Linked DNA regions of Homo sapiens: region 1 is linked to region 2. The links are contacts of gene promoters, found by promoter capture Hi-C in blood cells and fetal thymus (Javierre and others, 2016). All regions are on one chromosome and are shown on one strand. Each heading gives the region's core, a stretch centred on a gene start or on the middle of the fragment in contact. The rest is flanking DNA. Distances are from core to core; before and after follow the strand shown.

Region 1 (7,595 bases), core at 393-2,892, 110 kb before region 2:
GAGTTGACAGGATGTGCTTGTGGATTGGATGAAGGGTGTGAAAGAAAGAGAGGTTTAGGCCTAAGCAGCTGGAAGAATGGCATTGTCATTTACTGAAATGCGGAAGGCTGTAGGAGGAAATCAAGAGCTAGATTTTAGACATAGTAGATCTGAGGTGCCTATTAGATATCCAAGTAGAGATCCAAATCTAGAAATAACAATAATTTAGTGAATGTCTACTGAGGGGCTTATAAAATAGCAGGAAAGAGAACACTTTACTGAAATGTTCAGTAAACTACAGTACAGGTAGAAAATTATGATGTGAGGAAGAATAAATAAAGCAAAAGGGAGCAAAAGGGAGAGTGAGGTGACTTCTGTAGGAATTCTGTGCCCTTGATGAGCCTCAGTGGTGCCCACAGATGTTTCCAGTGGATTATGTATGTGTAGGTGCTCAAGAGCAGGGTCTGGGCCTTCAGCTTTGTGCCCTCAGTGCCAGTCATAAGTCTTAGCATTTGGTGACTGTTCCCCTCTCTGAGCCTCAGTTCTCCATGTATAAAAAATGAAGAGTTTGGACTAGACCGGTGCAGTGGAATCACCTGGGAAGCTTTAAAAAAAAAACAACCAAAAAGCAGGAATCCATCCTAGACATATTGAATCAGAATTTTCATGGTGGAGCCTGTGTATCTGTATTTTTAAGTCATTCCCCATGTTACTCTTTTGCAGTCTGTCCAGCAGCGGCCTTCAGACAGGCATTTGGAAGCCCCTGGACCAGATAGTTTCCAAGGGCCCCTTCAGCTTTAACATCTTATGAGTCTTGTTAGAATGTTCGCAGTATAATTCTGTCCTTGAAATCTTTGGTTGGCGTGGAAAAGGCATGGCAGGGGGAGAGGAGAAGCTGCCTTTGGGTGAAGGACACCTTGCACAGGGCAAGCAGGGGCAGGTACATCAGCCAGGGGGTTGAAGAGACATCCAGGAATGGCTCCGGGAGCAGTGGGAGCAGTGACAACTCACCTGCCATGGGGAGCCAGGTGTGTTAGGTCACGGAAATAGAGGGGAAAGACATGACCCCCACACAGGAGAGGCTCACATACTGATGGGAAGGACTGATGAGAAAACGAATGATTCCAGCCCCCTGTGAGAAGTGCTGCCATAGAGGAAGAGAGGCTTGGGTGTCAGGAGAAAAGTGGAGCAGGAGGAGGGCAGAGCACTGGAGTTGCAGTACTCAGAGAAGGCATCAGAAGGGGACCCTGGAGCTGAAACTTGGGGATGAGGAGTTCTTAGGTTTGTGTTTGAGGCCCTGGTGGGTTGGGGTATCAGGTATTCTCTAGTCAGGGGGATAGCTCAAACCCTGGCAGAGAGGCACGAGAAAGTGTGAGAGAACCACCACTGGGGTCAGAATGAAAGGTATCCTGGCAAGTGGCTGGAGAGGGGCAGAGACCACATTGGAATGCATCCTCCATGAGAGGCTGAAGGGACATCTTGGTGATCAGATGTATGTTTCACAGCAAATTTTATGGCAACATGTGCATTAGAGGGGCTACACTAAGTGGAGGAAAGACAAGTAAAAAACGTTTTTTTTGTTTGTTTGTTTTTGCCTGAGCCCACTGGGGCAGCTGTTTCTTACGTACTGCTGAGAATCTCTTTGGGCCATTTTTTTTGCCACTGGCTTGAATAGCAGGTGCCTCATGAAATGAAACATTGGCCATTGACTGATTCAGAACATCTGAGACTTGGAGTGATATAGACCTATAAGCAGGCCTCAGATGTGTATTCAAGAGGCCAGTGAGATATATACGCCATGGAGTCTGCTTGTCCACTTTAGCAGTTAATTTTTATGTAGAAATCCCTAAGATCTAGATTAATTTGCCCAGCTGTTGCAGCCTAACCTGTTCAAGGACTCAGAGATCCTTAAAGTTAGTTTAATTTTACATACTAAACCAATGCCTACCTAAGGTCTTCACACAAGTAACTATTGATACCATAGGAGTGAAAGCCAATTCCATGTGGTCACAATTCCTTATTCTTTTAGCTATACCATTCCCAATCTGGGGCTTTGTTCTGGGTCCAGGAACATGAGCCTCTTTTTTCTGTTTCCTCTGATCCTACTGAAGTTTCACTAAGTTCCCTTCACTACCGTAACCCATGGAAGTGGTGTCTCGATGATTAATGTTCCTGCTTGAGTTCAGGCGAGGCTCCTGCACGTCTTGGGAGCAGCAGCTTACTCTTGAACTTGTTTGCTCATTCTGACTTTCCCCTTGTCTGCTTCCATTCCTGGTATAACATAGGGAGACCCTGTCTCTACAAAAATAAAAAAACTGGCCAGGCGTGGTGGTGCACACCTGCATCCCCAGCTACTCAGGAGCCTGAGGCGAGAGGATCACTTGAGTCCAGGAGGTGGAGGCTGAAGTGAGCTATGATCACACCATTGCACTCCAGCCTGGGCAACAGAGTGAGACCCTGTCTCAAAGCAAACAAATAAATAAATAAAAACTCTTAATTACAAGCAATAATGCAACACAAATGATATCAGTATTTAAGCCATAGTCAGTCATGTGGGGGAGCAGGGTTGAGAGTTCACCCACAGGTTGTGAAACATCCATCCTTCCTTCCTTCCAGTCCTAATACAACGAACAATGGCAAATTCAAGAAAACTTTTTTTTTTCTCTCTCACAGTTCAGCGTTCCTTAAATCATGCTGCCTTTAACTTTCATTTTATAAATATGCAAGCTTTTATTTGCTTCCTTGTCTTATTAAACAGAATATATTAACTAGAGATCAAATTTTTCTTAATGCTTTTTGGAGTCCCTCTGCCTCCTTAATGTCCTGTTACTGAACTTTTATTAATCTACTATTACTGAACTTAGCATTGCTGAGGTAACAGATGGCAAAGTTTAATGTTATTTGAAATTTGAAGGCTTTATGCAGGGGGGAAAACCTCATGGGTTCAGTGTTAAGTCCTTGTTCTTAGTTCCTCAGAGCCTTTTTTATTTTTAGATTTGAATATGTGAATGTTACTACATTTATATATTTTTTTAAAGTGATAATTCAGGATATTTTCTGACAATAGATAAAATCATCTTTTGTCTACATCTTTTATTTCTTTTTTTAACAAGTCACCACCCACCAGGGTTTTTTTTTTTTTTTGAGACGGAGTCTCGCTCTGTCGGCCAGGCTGGAGTGCAGTGATGCGATCTCGGCTCACTGCAAGCTCCGCCTCCCGGGTTCACGCCATTCTCCTGCCTCAGCCTCCCGAGTAGCTGGGATTACAGGTGCCCGCCACCAAGCCCAGCTAATTTTTTGTATTTTTAGTAGAGACGGGGTTTCACCATTTTAGCCAGGATGGTCTCGATCTCCTGACCTCGTGATCCACCCGCCTCGACCTCCCAAAGTGCTGGGATTACAGGCGTGAGCCATCGCGCCCGGCCCCCACCAGGGGTTTAATTCTCTTAGTAAAAAGGCCAGTTCAGAGAGGGGCCCTGTCTTGTCCCCATCCAGGGGAGAAGATCTACAGAGCACCCTGGGAATGTCCAAGCCCAGTACATATTTTATTTCAAACTTCAAAATACTGCCCTCTTCTCTCTAGTATTATGAGGTTTGATGAACAAACCTATAAGTTAGTTATACTTTCCCCTTTCTCCTAAATTTTCATCTCTCCAGAAAAAAAAAAATAGAGCTCTAATTTTTAGGGTCTCATTAGAAAGCCCTTTCATTTACTTTACAACTTCAATCTCTGAGATTTCGCAGGACCTCTTCCAACTCTGGTATGTTTTTCTTGAGGTATGGGGAACCAAAACTGCACAGCACACGTAGCTATGGACACACAGTGGTTTTGAATAAGGGCAGGATCACAAGTTCTGCTTTGCTTAGAGTGTTCTTTCTGATAATGCCTAGCATTTTCTGGGCCTTTTGTGATGAAACATGCGATGTGGTATCTTAAGGGAACAGTCTAAGCTGATTGAACAGTGTAGCTTAAAATCCATTATTCTAAAAGTATAATTGGTATTGCTTTTCCCTGAATGTTCCTTCACATTTGCCTTCACTGATGGTCACTTGCTATAATTTTGCCTATTTATGCAGCCTCATGAGAACCTGTCTTTTAATTTTGCTTTTTGATTAGGAACAGCTTTAAGGCCATTTGCAAATGAAGGTTTTACTTTATTGCTTCTACAAATACTTATTGAGTACCTAATGGGGAATCCAGTGATGAATGAAATAGATAAGCCTCTTCCTTCATGAAACTTACATCCTAACATTCTTCTGCTAGATTATTGGGTCCCAAAGCATTTATATAATTATGAAGACTTCCTTTTTAAAATAAATTTTTCATGAGTCCTTATTCAGCAGTGGTGTGTCTAATGGCTGGTCCTTGAGCACACATATCTGGAGGTGAAGCTGGGTTCCCTTATGGGTTGGAAACCACCATTCTAGGTAATTTATGAAAGCATAAATCACTAGTCCAAAATTAGTCAATGGGTTAAAAGCTCTGTTTATATTTCCCCATGAATGGGAATTACATGAAGACATATATACGGATGCACACAGACAACATACATTCACCCAAGTTTTATGGAAGTCAGTTGTTATTTTGTTCTGTTTTTTTTTTGGTGGGATCTTAGCATTTAAAGTCTGTAGAAATTCTGTCTACTAGTCTACTAGTTCTGCCATAATTATATATAATCATACTGGTTTTTGTTTGTTTGTTTGTTTGTTTTTTGAGACAGAGTCCACTCTGTTGCTCAGGCTGGAGTACAATGGCGTGATCTCGGCTCACTGTAACCTCTGCCTCCCAGGTTCAAGCAATTCTCCTGCCCCAGCCTCCCAAGTAGCTGAGATTACAGGTGTACACCACCACGCCCAGCTAGTTTTTGTATTTTTAGTAGGGACAGGGTTTTGCCATGTTGGTCAGGCTGGTCTTGAACTCCTGACCTCAGGTGATCCACCTGCCTTGGCCTCCCAAAGTGCTGAGATTACAGGCATGAGTCCCAGCACCTGGCCACTGTTTTCTTTTTCTTTTTCTTTTTTTTTCCTAAGATAGGGTCTCGCTCTGTCACCTGGGCTGGAGTACAGTGGTGCAATCTTGGCTCACTGCAACCTCTGCCTCCCTGGTTCAAGCGATTCTCCGGTCTCAGCCTCCTAAGTAGCTGAGACTACAGACATCTGCCACCATACCTGGCTAATTTTTGTATTTTTGGTAGAGACAGGGTTTCACTGTGTTGGCCAGGCTAGTGTCGAACTCCTGACCTCAAGCGATCTGCCCACCTCAACCTCCCAAAGTACTGGGATTACAGTCATGAGCCACCGCATCCAGCTAATCATACTGGGTGTTGTTGTTGTTGTTGTTGTTGTTGTTCTGTTTTGTTTTTTTGAGACAGAGTCTCGCTCTGTTGCCCAGGCTGGAGTGCAGTGACGCGATCTCAGCTCACTGCAACCTCCACCTCCCGAATTCAAGAGATTCTCCTGCGTCGGCCTCCTGAGTAGCTGGGTTTGCAGGTGCACACCACCATGCCTGGTTAATTTTTGTATTTTTAGTAGAGATGAGGTTTTGCTATATTGGCCAGTCTGGTCTCAAACTGACCTCAAGTGATCTGCCCACCTCGGCCTCCCGAAGTGCTGGGATTACAGGCATGAGCCACTGCGCCCGGCCGAATCATATTGTTTTTATACCCTCAAATAATTCCAATAGGGTGATTCGGCATGCTGAGGCCCTTTCAAAACTAAGATGCTCCTTACCCACATCTAGTTGATATGTTTACTTAAATGTTTGGTAAAATTTTCTGGGCAAAGTAGTAGACTCTGTAATAAACAATATGAATTTATATTCATCTTTAAAAAATATTTCCAGATATTCCCTAGGTAGAAACTTATTCTGAGAGAGGGTATAGTTGTCAATCTGCCAGTCTTAGAGTTGTTCTTTACCCCCAAGGGGACTGTTCATATTGTTACATAATTCCACTATCTCACCTTTGAGTGAAATTTACTCTCAGCCTAGGCCACCAAACCAGTGATCCTGCCTTGCCTCTTGACTAGGCTGTTCTAGATCACTCAGTGAGCTTACCAGGTCTGGATCTATCTAGCTCGTTCAGATGCTTCAGGGTGAGCCTCTGACAAAGGCTCTGTAGGCCAGGCCATGGTTCCTGGGCTGGTGTTCATGGACATGGCTCTGGTCCCTGAGTGACTGCCCCCAGGCAAGGTAGGCAGCTGCCTGTGGTTTGCTCTTCTCAACTTTGGCTTGCTGCTTCCAACAGGTTATAGATACTGGTGTATGCTGAAACTTTTTATTTTGACTATACCTTTTATTTTAACTAAGTTATTCTGTTGATTTTCTAACTAGCATTTCCCTGGTGATCCATGTCAGATGTGCTTTAAGAATTTTACATTAATGATTTTTGGCTGGGTGCAGTGGCTCATGCCTGTAACCCCAGCACTTTGGGAGGCCAAGGTGGGTGGATCACATGAGGCTAGAAGTTTGAGACCATCTTGGCCAACATGGCGAAACCCCATCTCTATTAGAGATACAAAAATTAGCCGGGCATGGTGGCACACATCTGTAATCCCAGCTGCTCAGGAGGCTGAGGCACAAGAATCCCTTTAACCCGGGAGGTGGAGGTTGCAGTGAGCCAAGATCATGCCACTGCACTCCAGCCTGGGTGACAGAGCAAGACTCTGTTTCAAAACAAAACAAAACAAAACACCTGGTAGCTCACGCCTGTAATCTCAGCACTTTGGGCGGCCAAGGCCGGTGGAATACGAGGTCAGGAGATCAAGGCCACCCTGGCTAACATGGTGAAACCCTGTCTCTATTAAAAATACAGAAAAATTAGCTGGGTGTGGTGGTGCGTGCCTATAATCCCAGCTACTCGGGAGACTGGGTTGGAAGAGTCGCTTGAACCTGGGAGGCGGAGGTTGCAGTGAGCTGAGATCACGCCATTGCACTCCAGCCCAGGAGACAGTGCGAGAAAAAAAAAGAAAGAAAAGAATGTTATATTATTTTTAGAGTCTTTTGTAAGAAGCTCCTTAAATTTTTTGGCCTGCCTAGTTTCTTCTATTTTTTTTCCTTTTTGTATATTAAAAATATAATCAAAAAAATTTTTACATTTAAAAAAAAGAGGGGCTGGGCGCAGTTGCTCACGCCTGTAATCCCAGCACTTTGGGAGGCTGAGGTGGGTGGATCAGTTGAGGTCAGGAGTTTGAGACCTGCCTGGCCAACATGGCAAAACCCCGTCTCTACTAAAAATACAAAAATTAGACGGGCGTGGTGATGCATGTCTGTAGTCCCCACTACTTGGGAGGCTGAGCAGGAGAGTTGCTGGAACCCGGGAAGTGGAGGTTGCAGTGAGCCGAGATCACGCCACTGCATTCCAGACTGGGTGACAGGGCAAGACTCCGTCTCAAAAAAAAAAAAAAAGAAAAAAAAAAGAAAGGCATGGGGTCTCACTATGTTGGTCTTGAACTCCTAGGCTCAAGCGGTCATCCCACCTTGTGGGAAAATAATAACCACCAAAGTGCTAAAAATAATGAAGTTATGTAAATAATACAATTTGAAACATAGTTTGAATAATTTTAAAATGAAGATAAACAAAAGAGAAAATAATTTCGTCTGTTGAGATACTTTTTTT
Region 2 (7,704 bases), core at 4,021-6,520:
CACCAAACCCCTGATAAAGATTCTCATCGGAATGAAGCTGTGGACAAAGCCAGGGTCCTCCCTAAGACTCACCCACTTTAAGGCAGGCAGAATGCCTATGGGGGAGAAGCCCTGCCTGGTCATGGGCCCATGCCTGCAGTGGTCCACAGGAGCCTGCACCTGGCTTCCAGCCAACAGAAGCAATCTATTCCTACCTGTAGTGGATGCTGCTGGTGCCCTGCCCAGATGCCCTTTACCGCGGGGAACCCATCCCCCAGGCGCTGTTAGTTGGTAGCAACTCACAGCTGCCCCTTCTCTGAAGCATGCTGGGGTCGCTCAGAGAATAAGAATCAACTGCTCCAAAAACATACATTTTGAAGCATTGTCCTGAGCCAAATGGAAGCCACCTCACCCGGGAGGCAATCCCCACTTCCACTCTTAATCCTTGCCCCCATCCTTGGCCCATGACTAGCACTGCTACGAAAGGCTGTCCTTGCTTCACCTCAAAGTGGAACTAACTCCATGGGAGAGTTTGGGCTCTAGGGTGTCTCTGTGGGATCAGACTAAAGCCAAGCCCCAGCCGAGACCACACTGCTGCTTCTTCCCTTGGCCCTATTCTGCCTCCCTTATCCCCTTCTCCCAAGAACACTCCCCCAATAAATCACTTGAACAGAATCCCCATCTCAGGCTAAGGAATCTGCATAAGATCCATCAGGCATCCTGCTGTGTTGGCTCTCGCTGACAGAGAAATTTCACTGGGACTCTTCTTTTCTTCGCTTTCTTTCTCTTTTTCTTTCCCTCTCTCTCTCTCTTTCTTTCCTTTCTTTCCTCTCTTTCTCTCTCTCTCTCTCTCTCTGTCTTCTTTTTTTCAGGATCTTGCTGTATTGCCCAGGTTGGAGTGCAGTGGTGTTATCATGGCTTACTGCAGCCTCGAACTCCTGGGCTCAAGCAATTCTCCCACCTCAGCCTCCCAAGTAGCCAGGACCACAGGCATGTGCTACCATGCTGGTGGCTCATCTTTTCTTTCCTTTCTTTTTCTTTTCTTTCTTTCTTTCTTTTTTTTTTTTTTTTTTTGGAAATAGAGCCTCGCTCTGTCACCCAGGCTGCAGTACAGTGGCATGATCTTGGTTCACGATAACCTGTGCCTCCTGGGCTCAAGCAATTCTCCTGCCTTAGCCTCCCGAGTAGCTGGGACTACGGGCATGCACCATCATGCCCACCTAATTTTTATATTTTTAGTAGAGACTGGGTTTCACCATGTTGATCAGGCTGGTCTCGAACTCCTGACCTCAAGTGATCTGCCCGCCTCAGCCTCCCAAAGTGCTGGGATTACAGGCGTGAGCCACTGTATGAGGGCTCATCTTTTCTATCATGGCAAAATGTATATCCTTGGAGCAGTTGGATTCTTATTCAGGATATGGGGCTGACTGCCCAGTAAATCAATCCTTGCAGAATTCACACTGGGTCTTACCCAGGAAGTCATTCAGAGACACCATAACCCTGATGACACAGAGTCTGGCCAGAGAACACAGTCCCCAGCAGTAGAGTCCAAGCGGGGGTCCAGAATCCATCCTGCCTGTCAGGCAGCCGATGAGATGGTCACATGGGGCAGACACCTCAAGAGCTAGCTCAGATCTTCCAAATACTAGCACGCAGCGCGGTGGCCCCTGGCTTTACCTCAGGTTGGCCAGCTTCTCAATAGTTGCTCCCTTTCTGGTACTGGCTGCCCCGTCATACTCCCCCATGGAGGACAGGTAGGGGAAACAGTGGCCAATGCCTACCTCACTGGGTTATTGTGAGGGTTCCTTGAGATAGTGCATGTAAGGCTCTTATCACAGAGCCTGGCATCTGCCAAGCTCTTAAGTGTGCCAGCTGGTACCATTGTTGTCACCATCTCCTGGAACTACAGGATCCATCTCAGGGCCCCTCACACACTGCTCTTCCCCTCCAACCTGGGAGCTCCAGTGCCTCTCCGTTTCCTGAGGTTGGGGTGGTTAAAAAAGCTCTCTGCCCAAGCCCCTGAGTACTACCTTTCCAGCTCTCATCCCTGTGGGGACCAGCACTGCCCTGGGGAAGGAGACTGATGGGAACCAACAGGAAATGCTACAGCTGAGGCTCCCGGCCCATGAGCTGGCCAGTATTGAGCTTCTGTGATGGGTCAGGTCTCCACGGCCACAGAACTGAGGGAATTGGACGCAGCCCTTGGAATCAGGAACCTTGCTTCTACAGGTGTAGTGAAATGGAAAGGAGTGTTTCCAAGTGAGTCATGGCGTCTGATTGGCAGGCCCATCCAGGAACAACAGTGAGAGTACCAGTGAGAGTAGAGTGAAAGACACAGCCACGCCTTTGACTCCATGGCAGGACACTAGTGGTGGAATTCCACCTGGGGGGTAGGGGACGAGATATGCTTGGAGAGTTTCAATGTCTGAATATGGGACGTGACATTCACAGGTGTCCGTTTTTGTTCTACCTAACAATTGTATTTAATTTGTGGTGCCCTACTTGTCAGCACTTCTCTATGGACCCTGCTGGTCTTTGGTAGATTTGTTTTCCTGGCTCCTGCCAGGAGGCCTTAAGTCCTCTTCATGATTACTCCTGTAAAAATATCTGGCTTCGCCCTAAGTCTCAGTGAGGGCCACATCAGACCACTTCTATGACAGGGGGAGAAGATGGAACAATCAAGGAATTATTTTTGTCTGTATAGCGAATCGGCTTATCAACTGTGACTTGATCAATAAGGCAATGGAGATCCAAATTAATAGTCTCCACAGCCCCTGCCAATAGCTGGAGGAAGTGTACTTTAGAAGGAAGATATAGCCTTTAGTATAAAACCTATAATAGACAGGGACATCACCCCTGAACCCAATAGCATAACATGAATTAAGACCCTTGGTTTGCAGAACATCTTGATCTGGATCAAACTGAAAAGGAACTATCTCAATTTCTCACTATATGAAAAGCTGATATGAGGCTGGGCACAGTGGCTCACACTTGTAATCCCAGCACTTTGGGAGACCGGGGCAGGAGGATCACTTGAGCCCAGGAGTTCTAGACCTGGGCAACATGGTAAGACCCTGTCTCTACAAAATAGGTAAATAAATAAATATTAGAACAACCAGGATGAAATTTTTTAAAAAAGAAAAAAAAATTAGCTGGCGTATGGTGCACATCTGTAGTCCCAACTACTCTGGAGGCTGAGGTGGGAGGATTGGTGGGAGGTCGAGGCTGTAGTGAGCTGAGATTGCGCCACTGCACGCCAGCCAGGGAGACAGAGTGAGACCCTGTCTCAAAAAAATAAATGAATAAATAAAATGCTAATATGAGCTGGAGAGGCAAGAGGAATAGAAGGTAAAAAGAACAACAAGGGAAATACACTTTTTAAGTACAATCAATTAAATATTAAATATTTGGGAACAGTGAGCTCTGAACTGCTTGGGTAAAATTCGCCCTGCCTGGTGGCCTTAAGCACTCCTGCAGGTGGGACCCGGCATCCTAATTCTACCAGGCCTCTTGTTGCTGCCGTAGATGAGCCCCAGACTCGGCCTTCCATTTTGTATTGGATGATGACCACATGTGCCCAGATGTTCTCAGTGAGTAGAGTGGGTCAAGGAGTAAACTATATCGGAAACCGTTGGATAATCATGCCAAGCAGGCTGGGGGCTTCCAGCCTTTGGGGTACTGGAATGCTTTCTTCCCCTGGGACCAGCTGAACTAGCTCTGTAGTTGCCGGGAGAGCAGTGTGCTCTAACACTTGGGCTAGTCCGTTCCCACAGGAAAACTAGAAGAGTCACAAGCAAAGAGTATAAAAGCCCAAGATATTTCTTTAGTCTTTGTATTTAGCTCTATGTCATCAATTTTTTTTTTTACAGGGTCTCACTCCTGTCGCCCAGGCTGGAGTGCAGTGGTGTGATTATGGTTCACTGCAGCCTTGACTTCCCAGGCTTAAATGATCCTCCCACCTCAGCCTCCTGAGTAGCTGGGATTACAGGTGCACGCCACCACACCTGTCTAATTTTTTCTATTTTTTGTAGAGACAGGGTCTCCCTGTGTTGCCCAGGCTGGTCTTGAAGTCCTGGGCTCAAGCGATCTACCTGCCTTGGCCTCCCAAAGTGCTAGGATTATTGCTACTTTCCAATATTTCTACTACAGACTACGGGAAGTCCATTTTTCAATGCCAAATGCAGAAGAAAAAGTTGTATGGATGCCCTTTCTGCCAATCATCCCAGGTTTAGGAGAGAAGAATGATGAGGTCATGTTCATGGAACTTGACGAGTGATAAGCCTCTTTATTTGTCCAGTGCTTGGATACACGAATCGATGCAATGAAAGAGACCTCGCCTGTGAAGAGCTAAGAAATGAGTGTGGGCAGAATCATGAGAAGAAAATAAAGAGATTGCTGAGCAACTCTTCTGACAGTTCTTGTGCTTTTTGAATGTTTCACTCACTACTTATAAAATAACCTATTATGTCAGAGCCTGGCGAGAAGGGATCCTCTCCAACTCTTTGACTAATAATTCCCTAAAACAGGAGGTGGCCTGCAGAAGAACTAAAACCAGAAAAGTTAGGTGGTTGCCTCTGAGGAATGGGATAGAGTTGGAGGGGTGGAGCAGCCCCTTTACTGTCAACCCTTCTGAGCTCTGCTGGATGGTGAGGGAAATTATCTATGTATATTTATGTGGTCCTCTCCCCACTCTGCCCTGGCCTGGCTCAGCTCTAGGTCTCACTCAGCGGGCGTCTGCGGGTGTGCCGGGCCTCAGAGGCTGTCTCCTTAGGAAACAGGCCACCAAGAAGCCCAAGGACATGCTGAGGTCCCACAGCTGGAGGGGCACAGCCGGGACACCTGAGGTCCTCCAGCTGTTGGTCTTTCCCTGGGGTCTCCACCCCAATCTATCCAGCCTCCCAACTCCCCAGCCTGTGGCTTTTTGCCACATTCCACCTGAAAAGACCGCTTGGCTTCTGGGGTCTGGGATCCCTGCTGGCCATGCCTCCTTGAGAGGAGGAGCAGGGGAGAAGCCCGGAGTCTCCTGGCCTGGAGGAGGGGAGCAGTGTGTCAGGACACCCCGGATGGGACCTGTGACAGCAATGACACCTGCCAGCCTGATGCCGCTTGACTCCCTGCCAGGTACTTCCTAAGCAGGAGCACGCTGACTCCTCATGTGCTCTATTACCCACCACCAGATGAGGCAGCAAGTTAACTTTGGCAGTCAGGAGTGGAGACCTTTGGGCTCCAAGCTCAAGGTCCACCCCAAGACACACAGCCCATTAAATCCTTGTTGTAGAGATTAGGGCCCACAACGATGTGAAGGTTATAAGCTGCACTGCATGGTTGCTGCTGGATGTGTTGTGTTCCTGGCTTCCCTCTGGATGCTGACAGAAACAAGGGTGAGAGAAAAGGACAGTAGGAGAGGAGGGAAGGCGGGACTGAAGAAAGGAGGGGAAGGGGGTAGCACAGGGCAAAGTGGAAAAGCAGGTAGCGTCCTTTTTTTCTTCACTAGGGCTTGGCGAAGACCCCTTCGAGGACAGCTCCAGGCCCATCCCTGTGGTGGCCACCCATGGAGACAGTAGTGCTGCTCAGAGGCATTTAGTTTTTGTTTCTTTTCTGTTTTTGAGGTAGAGTCTCGCTCTGTTGCCGAGGCTGGAGTGCAGTGGTGTGATCTCTGCTCACTGCAGCCTCCACCTCTCGGGTTCAAGCAATTCTCCTGCCTCAGCCTCCCGAGTAGCTGGGACTACAGGCACCTGCCACCATGCCTGGCTAATTTTTGTATTTTTAGTAGAGACGGGGTTTCACCATGTTGGCCAGGCTGGTCTCGAACTCCTGGCTTCAAGTGATCTGCCCACCTTGGCCTCCCAAAGTGCTGGGAGTGCAGGCATGAGCCACCGTGCCCCCCCTCTTTTTTTTTTTTAAAGGTAGAGTCTTGCTCTGTGGCTAGTTTTCAATCAAGGTAACACATGGGCTCTCAACAGTGTGCGGAACTCTGCTAGAAAAATCAAATTATGAGAACACTGTTACTGTGTGATCCCCTATTGGAAAATGAATAACATAAAATAACATACATTTAGGAAAAAAAAAGTGGAGAAAAGGCCAGGCGCGGTGGCTCATGCCTGTAATCCCAGCACTTTGGGAGGCCAAGGTGGGTGGACCACCTGAGGTTGGAAGTTCGAGACCAGCCTGACCAACATGGAGAAACCCCATCTCTACTAAAAATACAAAATTAGCCAGGTGTGGTGGCGCATGCCTGTAATCACAGCTACTTGGGAGGCTGAGGCAGGAGAATCGCTTGAACTTGGGAGGCGGAGGTTGCAGTGAACCGAGCTCGCACCACTGTACTCCAGCCTGGGCAACAAGAGTGAAACTCCGTCTCAAAAAAAAAAAAAAAAAGGAGGAAAATGCCACACAAACTCAATAGTGGTCATCCCTGAGGGCTCAGATTCCGGGGACTTTAACTTCCCTCATTCTGTATATTTCTCTAATGTTTAAATGTTTAATGATACACTTGTAATGCTTTGGTAATTCAAATGACAGATGAAGAAAAAATGTTTTCAAAAAGAGGGGGTGTCCATCCACCATCCTCTCCAAACTTCCAAAACAACCAGGAGGTGCCGGTACTAGCAAGTATTTATGCATCATAGAGGATTTTGTCCTGAGCGCGTACCATTAATTATTAAAGAGATGTTGTGAATCCCGTCAGATGAGTTTAATGTTTAGTGTGAGGACTGGAAAACTAAAGCATTCAGCCCTTCGCTTTGCACACCGTTGGCTTAGGTATTCATTTAACAAAGATGAAATGAAGGGGAAATGGTGTGATTTGGTTTTGTTTTCTTGACAGACCTGAAACACTTTTACTATTTCTCACAGCTACACTGCTTTCCTCATTTTCCAGCACAGGAAAATTGGTTGCTGTTATAATAAATCCCCATCTAGTGAGAAAGGGAGATAGAGAAAGATGCAAAATGAAAGATAAAATGCAAAAAGCTAACAGCCTGGCTGGGGAAAGGAGGCCATGGGAAGGAAGGAGGGGGAGGGAAATAATCACATAGGTGGCTTCCTGGAAGAAGCGGCCCTAATAGGCCTGGAAGAGGTCAGTTTGGGAACTGGGGAGAGGGCAGAGGAGGGCATCTCTGATGGAGAAGCAGCAGCCAGTGGGCAGGAGCTGCAGGGAGCCAGGTTGCAAGTGGGCCTGCTTCCTGTATCCCTGAGACCGTGTTGGGGTCCCCACCCTGGCTGTGGCCCTGGCCTCTGGGGAGGCGCTGGGCAGAACTGGGTGGCAGGCCCAACCTACTCCGACCCTGGACTCTGCCCAGGAATTTCTGCTGAAGTGACAAGGCAAGCCAGAGCCAAAGCAGGTTGGACCCAGCTTGTCCCCACAGAGACGTGTGCTTCCCTCTCTCTCTGAGAGCGACCTGTTAACCGCAAATACGTGAGTAGAAACAGGGCCCCGCTTCTGTGTGCGCTGCTGTGCGTCTGTGTGTGAGCCAGGGCATTCCCAGGCTCTGCCTGTGTGTGTGCACGCACATGCACGGGTCTCTGAGTATGTCAGCCTAACTGGGCTGGCATTTGGATGGAGTAGGGCACCACCCAAGGGGAGAAAAAGGAGCGGGAACAAGAGAAGGGAGAGAGGAGGTGTTAGTTACCACTCTTATTTACAGATGAGCTTAAGCCTACGAACTGAGCTTCAGCAAAAAATGAACTATATTGATTCTTGCAATGGAAAGTCCAGGAGTAGGA

Evidence for each region. Contacts are between HindIII fragments. The CHiCAGO score rates a contact against its expected background, and 5 or more counts as called.
Region 1: a contact is called between a fragment that was not itself captured here and the fragment with the promoter of SLC28A1 in region 2, in 3 of 17 cell types (M1 macrophages, M0 macrophages and M2 macrophages). The highest score is 6.3, in M1 macrophages.

Annotation. Positions count from the first base shown.
Region 1 is chr15:84,770,107-84,777,701 of GRCh38, forward strand. All of the region lies in intron 2 of ZNF592 (zinc finger protein 592), which reads left to right. Among named protein-coding and RNA genes, the nearest start is that of ZNF592, 25 kb to the left of the region's middle. RefSeq lists an enhancer at 3,865-3,944. The HindIII fragment of the contact is 2,123 bases long and covers 582-2,704 here.
Region 2 is chr15:84,879,392-84,887,095 of GRCh38, forward strand. It overlaps SLC28A1 (solute carrier family 28 member 1), which reads left to right and starts at 5,271. Exons shown (of 19, transcript NM_004213.5): 1 at 5,271-5,360; 2 at 7,281-7,396. RefSeq lists enhancers at 4,350-4,850, 4,851-5,351. The HindIII fragment of the contact is 20,311 bases long and covers 1-7,704 here.